Linked DNA regions of Homo sapiens: region 1 is linked to region 2. Evidence: promoter capture Hi-C in human tissues and cell types (Jung and others, 2019). All regions are on one chromosome and are shown on one strand. The core of a region is centred on a gene start or on the middle of the fragment in contact, and the rest is flanking DNA. Distances in the headings are between cores, read along the strand shown. Region 1 overlaps ZBED6 (zinc finger BED-type containing 6). Region 2 holds the start of LAX1 (lymphocyte transmembrane adaptor 1).

Region 1 (2,883 bases), core at 48-2,547, 34 kb after region 2:
GGGCCATTTGTAACCTCTGTGAGAAAAGCGTCAGCAGGGGTAAACCAGGTAGCCATCTTGGTACATCTACTCTTCAACGACATCTGCAAGCAAGGCATTCACCTCATTGGACCAGGGCCAACAAGTTTGGAGTTGCTAGTGGAGAGGAGGACTTTACCTTGGATGTGTCTTTATCTCCCTCTTCTGGAAGCAATGGAAGCTTTGAATATATTCCTACTGATCCATTAGATGATAATAGAATGGGCAAGAAGCATGATAAATCAGCATCTGATGCCCTAAGGGCAGAAAGAGGGAGATTTCTCATCAAAAGTAACATTGTCAAGCATGCTTTAATTCCTGGAACTAGAGCCAAGACATCTGCCGTTTGGAATTTTTTTTACACTGATCCTCAGCACATCTCAAGAGCTGTGTGTAATATATGTAAAAGAAGTGTGAGCCGGGGTAGGCCAGGGTCCCACTTAGGGACTTCAACACTTCAACGACACCTGCAAGCCACACATCCTATCCATTGGGCTGTTGCCAACAAAGACAGTGGTGCTGTTGCAAATGGATTAGATGAAGCTGAGACTGAGAGAAGTGATCTCTTGAGTGATACCTTGCATGGAGAAAAGTCTACAGGCAGCCAAGATTTAACAGCTGAGGACCTTAGTGACTCTGATTCAGATGAACCTATGTTAGAGGTTGAAAACAGATCTGAAAGTCCTATTCCCGTTGCAGAGCAAGGCACTCTGATGCGTGCGCAGGAGAGAGAAACAACATGTTGTGGAAATCCAGTCTCAAGTCACATAAGTCAGGCAATTATCCAAATGATTGTGGAGGATATGCATCCTTACAACTATTTCTCAACCCCAGCCTTTCAGAGGTTCATGCAGATTGTGGCCCCTGATTATAGGTTGCCATCAGAGACTTACTTTTTCACTAAGGCTGTACCTCAGTTATATGATTGTGTCAGAGAAAAAATTTTCTTAACTTTAGAGAATGTTCAAAGCCAAAAGATACACCTGACTGTTGACATATGGACCCATGACCCATCCACTGACTATTTTATTGTGACTGTACACTGGGTTTCTTTGGAAACTGCGTCTTTTCTCAATAATGGCAGGATCCCCGATTTTAGAAAGTGGGCAGTGCTTTGTGTTACAGGTTTGGCTAAAGACTGTTTGATAACCAATATTTTACAAGAATTAAATGACCAGATTGGTCTGTGGCTTTCTCCAAATTTCCTTATCCCTAGCTTCATTGTTTCTGACAATTCCTCTAATGTGGTACATGCAATCAAAGATGGTGGTTTTACCCATGTGCCATGCTTCCTGCATTGTTTAAATATGGTCATTCAGGACTTTTTCTGCGAGCACAAAAGCATTGAGAATATGTTAGTGGCTGCCAGGAAAACTTGTCATCATTTTAGTCATTCGGTCAAGGCCCGTCAGATACTGCAAGAGTTCCAAAATGATCACCAACTTCCATGGAAGAATTTGAAGCAGGACGAAACTGGCCATTGGATTTCTACTTTTTATATGTTAAAATGGCTCTTGGAGCATTGCTACTCAGTTCACCATAGTCTTGGTAGAGCCAGTGGAGTTGTGCTCACCTCCCTTCAGTGGACTCTAATGACTTATGTTTGTGATATTCTTAAGCCATTTGAGGAGGCTACCCAGAAAGTGAGCGTGAAGACCGCAGGATTGAATCAGGTGCTACCCCTAATCCATCATCTACTCCTTTCCCTGCAGAAACTCAGAGAAGATTTTCAAGTCAGAGGTATTACTCAGGCCCTCAATCTGGTGGATAGTTTATCTCTGAAACTTGAAACAGATACCCTACTAAGTGCCATGCTTAAATCCAAGCCCTGTATCTTGGCTACTTTGTTAGATCCTTGCTTTAAAAACAGTTTGGAAGACTTTTTTCCTCAAGGTGCTGATTTAGAAACTTATAAGCAGTTCCTTGCAGAAGAGGTCTGTAATTATATGGAATCTTCACCAGAGATCTGCCAAATTCCAACTTCAGAAGCTTCTTGTCCCTCAGTTACAGTGGGAGCTGATTCATTTACCTCATCTCTAAAAGAAGGCACCTCCAGTTCAGGTTCTGTTGATAGCTCAGCTGTAGACAATGTTGCCCTTGGAAGCAAAAGCTTCATGTTCCCTTCTGCTGTAGCAGTTGTGGATGAGTACTTCAAAGAGAAGTATTCAGAGTTCTCAGGAGGTGATGACCCTTTAATTTACTGGCAGAGGAAGATAAGCATATGGCCGGCTTTGACCCAGGTTGCCATCCAGTATCTAAGTTGCCCCATGTGTAGTTGGCAATCTGAATGTATCTTTACTAAAAATAGCCACTTTCATCCAAAACAGATCATGAGCCTGGACTTTGACAATATAGAACAACTGATGTTTCTGAAAATGAACTTGAAAAATGTTAACTACGATTATTCTACGTTGGTTCTGAGCTGGGATCCTGAGCAGAATGAAGTTGTTCAAAGCAGTGAAAAAGAAATACTGCCTTAATTTCTTTTTCTCCATTTAAAATGGGCAACTTTTTGCTGTGTTACTGTATCTTAATAGCTGTAGTTGTTAAATATAATCATTATCTTTATAAACACATCTGGGGAAACCTGAAATCACACAAGGGCTGAAAATTCCTCAGAGGCAATATAATTTTGATAAAATGAAGATTAAAGATTTCATAGCTATAACTGTGGCGCTAGCACTTGAAAATTTTGCTTATACCAATGAGAGAGAAGATATTTTTAATTAAAAAAAATATAGTGCAGCATTGAAAGGCCTTAGGCTTTCTTCCTGGTAGATTGAACTAGTAATTGGTTTTAAGTAAAACTTCCCCCACCATGGGAAATTTTATTGCTCTGAAATCAACGAAATGAGAAAAAAGTAC
Region 2 (2,991 bases), core at 47-2,546:
CTGAGGTTTGGTTCCATGTGCCCTTTCCGTGTACTGCCTTCCGAGGTCCTGATTCTCACAGTCCCTTATTGGTTCCAATGGCCCAGGACCCCAGTCCTTGCCACCAGCATGATGGATCTTGTGAGTAGTCCTAGTTCCTACTCAGACCTGATCCAAAGGAGAAGTGGGCAGAGACCCAGGTTCCAGCTCCAGCACCAGCTGCCTCTGAGCCATTTCTGCTTCCTACCAGGTGAAGCTCCTGGGAGGGAAGGGGCCCAGGACCTGGAATGATAAAGCTCCCTGGAAAGCCAGCCATGGCCAGTCTGCAGCCCCTGGGGACTCTGTGAGAGTCTGGATGCAGACAGGCCAGGGGCTGCCACCTCAGGAAAGCTGAGGACCTCAATGTCCACTGGGAAGAGATGGGAGGGAGGCATGGTTCTAGGAGGGTACTGCTGGTCTGCCCTTCCATTCATCTGGGAATCCATTTCCTTGTGGAAAGTGCAATCAGAGAGGTTCTTCACATCCTTACAACAGTCTTAGTGGCCCCTTCTCTTTGGACTCTCCCAAGATGCAAAGAGTGTTTCCGGAGATTAGTAGGCTCAAGAAGGGAGGGGAGTTAGCAATAAATTTTGAACAATCTTCAAACACTTTGGGTAGCTCTTAAGGATGAACTTGTTCAGCTTCTGAGACAGGTGTGTGACAAGTAAGACTGTGACTGATCTTCAGAAGAGCCCTGAGAACAGGAGATCACCAGCAGCCAGGAGCTGTGGAAGGTTGCCTTGGGGGAGCAGGGGTCCTGCTAACCCAGCATAACTTCTATTCTTAAGGTAGTACCCAGAGCAGAGGTTCCCAAAACATGAAACACAGATGAGCTCCATCAAAATCACCTGAAAGCTCCATCAAATTCACCTGGAAAGCATCGATAGCCAAAGCCTGCCCCCTCTGCAGCCTCCACCCACTGAATCAGAAGAGGGTCCCGGAGATCTGCATTTCACTCTAAAAGGCAACCTCCAGTGCTCCTTAGACTTGCTTAGAAAATACTGTAAATCTGAAGACTTATACAACTCTAAGTGTCTCAGAAACTCAGGGTGAAGAATCACAAGTTCTCTACTACCCTGCCCCATTTTTAATCACACTCATCACAGACCACAGAGCACCTGGCAAACCCAGGAACGGTGGGTTGAAGATATGTTTTCTTCTAGCAGATTAAGAGCTGAGCAGAGTTTCCTGTGCCCTGTGCTTCATTAGCACATTGGTGGTGTCGTTTCCGGTGACTGACTCTCTGTTTCCATTCTGGCAAAGTGGTTTGCTCTTTTCACTCTGCTTTGGGTGTTGAAGGAAGACGAGCTTCTCACGGAGCCTCTCTTGAGCCTCTTGGCAGTTTCCCCCTCTGTGCCCCTCACGTTTCCACCAGAAACGTGAAGGCAGAGGCCACAGATTCTCCCTGAGCCACCTCACTTGGAAGCACCATGTCCGGATGAGATCGCACTTCCTGCAGTGGGCATTAGCCACGTCCAGGTAGAACCAAACCTGTTGCTTTTGTATGTTGGGTCAACTTGGCCTGACGTTTCAGAGGTAGACACGAGATAGGGAGTTTGTTGCGGGGGTGGGGAGAAGTGGTAGACATGCTGGCTAACTGATTATGATTAAGAGAAACTTAGAAGCTGAAGCCAGAGAGCATCTCAAAGGTTCCTGATACAATGGATGGTGTCACTCCAACCCTTTCGACAATCAGAGGGAGGACCTTGGAGTCCAGCACTCTGCATGTGACTCCCCGCAGCCTGGACAGGTGAGTGACTCAGGGTGGTGAGCTCCACCCTGCCCTGATTTAGGCAGAAGGTCCTAGTCCACCCTTAGGAGCTTCTTACACAGCAGTGCTGCCACCTCTCAACACCCAGGCTCGGTCTACTAAACCACCAAACTCTAGGCTTGGAGGCATTTGCTCAGGGGTGCTAGGGGGAAAGGAAGGTATTGAGGAAAGAAAGAAAATATTGTGGTAGAGGAAAAACTGTGATAACACTGGCCCTTAAAGCTAGTTGCTTAGACTGGTTGGATTTCTCACCTCTCGGAGGCCCTGAACCCTATCATCAGTCTTTCCTAGGTGTCACCATGACAGAAACAAAAGGCTGAGTTTTCCAAGGATGTGTTTTGAGATCCAAAAACTTGTCATGAATAAAAAATGTAGTGATAGATGTAATAAAGATACGTCCTTAGGACGTAAAATCTTACAGAACTAATCATGGGTATGAATTACTGCTACTACTTTCAATCTCATACAAACAAAATTAAAAATCCATCCACAGTTGAAACTTTAAAAACATTGGCAGCTGACTGGGCGCGGTGGCTCACACCTGTAACCCCAGCACTTTGGGAGGCCGAGTGGGGCGGATCACCCCCACTCTTGAACCAGCCTGGCCAAGACCAGCCTGGCCAACATGGTGAAACCCCGTTTCTACTAAAAATACAAAAATTAGCCGGGAGTGGTAGCATGCTCCTGTAGTCCCAGCTACTCAGGAGGCTGAGGCAGGAGAATCACTTGAACCCGGGAAACAGAGGTTGCAGTGTCATGTCATTGTACTCCAGCCTGGGCAACAAAAGCGAAACTCTGTCTCAAAAAATAAAATAAAATTGCAGTCGTTTGGGGAAATAAATGTTATTATCATGGCAAACACATGTCACTTGCTGGTAGATATGAGCATCAATGAGCAATGAATCAGAAGCCTGAAGCATCTCTCCAAAACTATTTCTTCATTTATTTTTATTTATTTCTAATTGGCAAATCAAAATTATATATATTTATCATGATAGCCTGTTGTTTTGAAATATGTATACATTGTACAATAGCTACATTAAACTAATTAAGATACACATTACTTCACAATTTTCTTTTGTGGTGAGAATACTTAAAATTTCTCAGCAATTTTCAAGAATATGACACATTTTTATTAACTATAGTCATCAACACTTTTTTTGTTTTGTTTTGTTTGTTTTTTTTATTTTTATTTTTTTAGA

What was found. The method cuts DNA at HindIII sites, captures the fragments that hold promoters and counts their contacts. A contact is called where the count stands out against the background at its distance.
Region 1: a contact is called between a fragment that was not itself captured here and the fragment with the promoter of LAX1 in region 2, in 1 of the 25 tissues and cell types used here (psoas muscle).

Annotation. Positions count from the first base shown.
Region 1 is chr1:203,797,965-203,800,847 of GRCh38, forward strand. ZBED6 (zinc finger BED-type containing 6) reads left to right here. Exons shown (of 17, transcript NM_001395895.1): 1 at 1-2,883. The coding sequence ends at 2,498. All of the region lies in intron 1 of ZC3H11A (zinc finger CCCH-type containing 11A), which reads left to right. Among named protein-coding and RNA genes, the nearest start is that of ZC3H11A, 3.8 kb to the left of the region's middle. The HindIII fragment of the contact is 3,631 bases long and covers 1-2,883 here.
Region 2 is chr1:203,763,887-203,766,877 of GRCh38, forward strand. It overlaps LAX1 (lymphocyte transmembrane adaptor 1), which reads left to right and starts at 1,297. Exons shown (of 5, transcript NM_017773.4): 1 at 1,297-1,768. The coding sequence starts at 1,680. RefSeq lists an enhancer at 1,180-1,539. The HindIII fragment of the contact is 24,847 bases long and covers 1-2,991 here.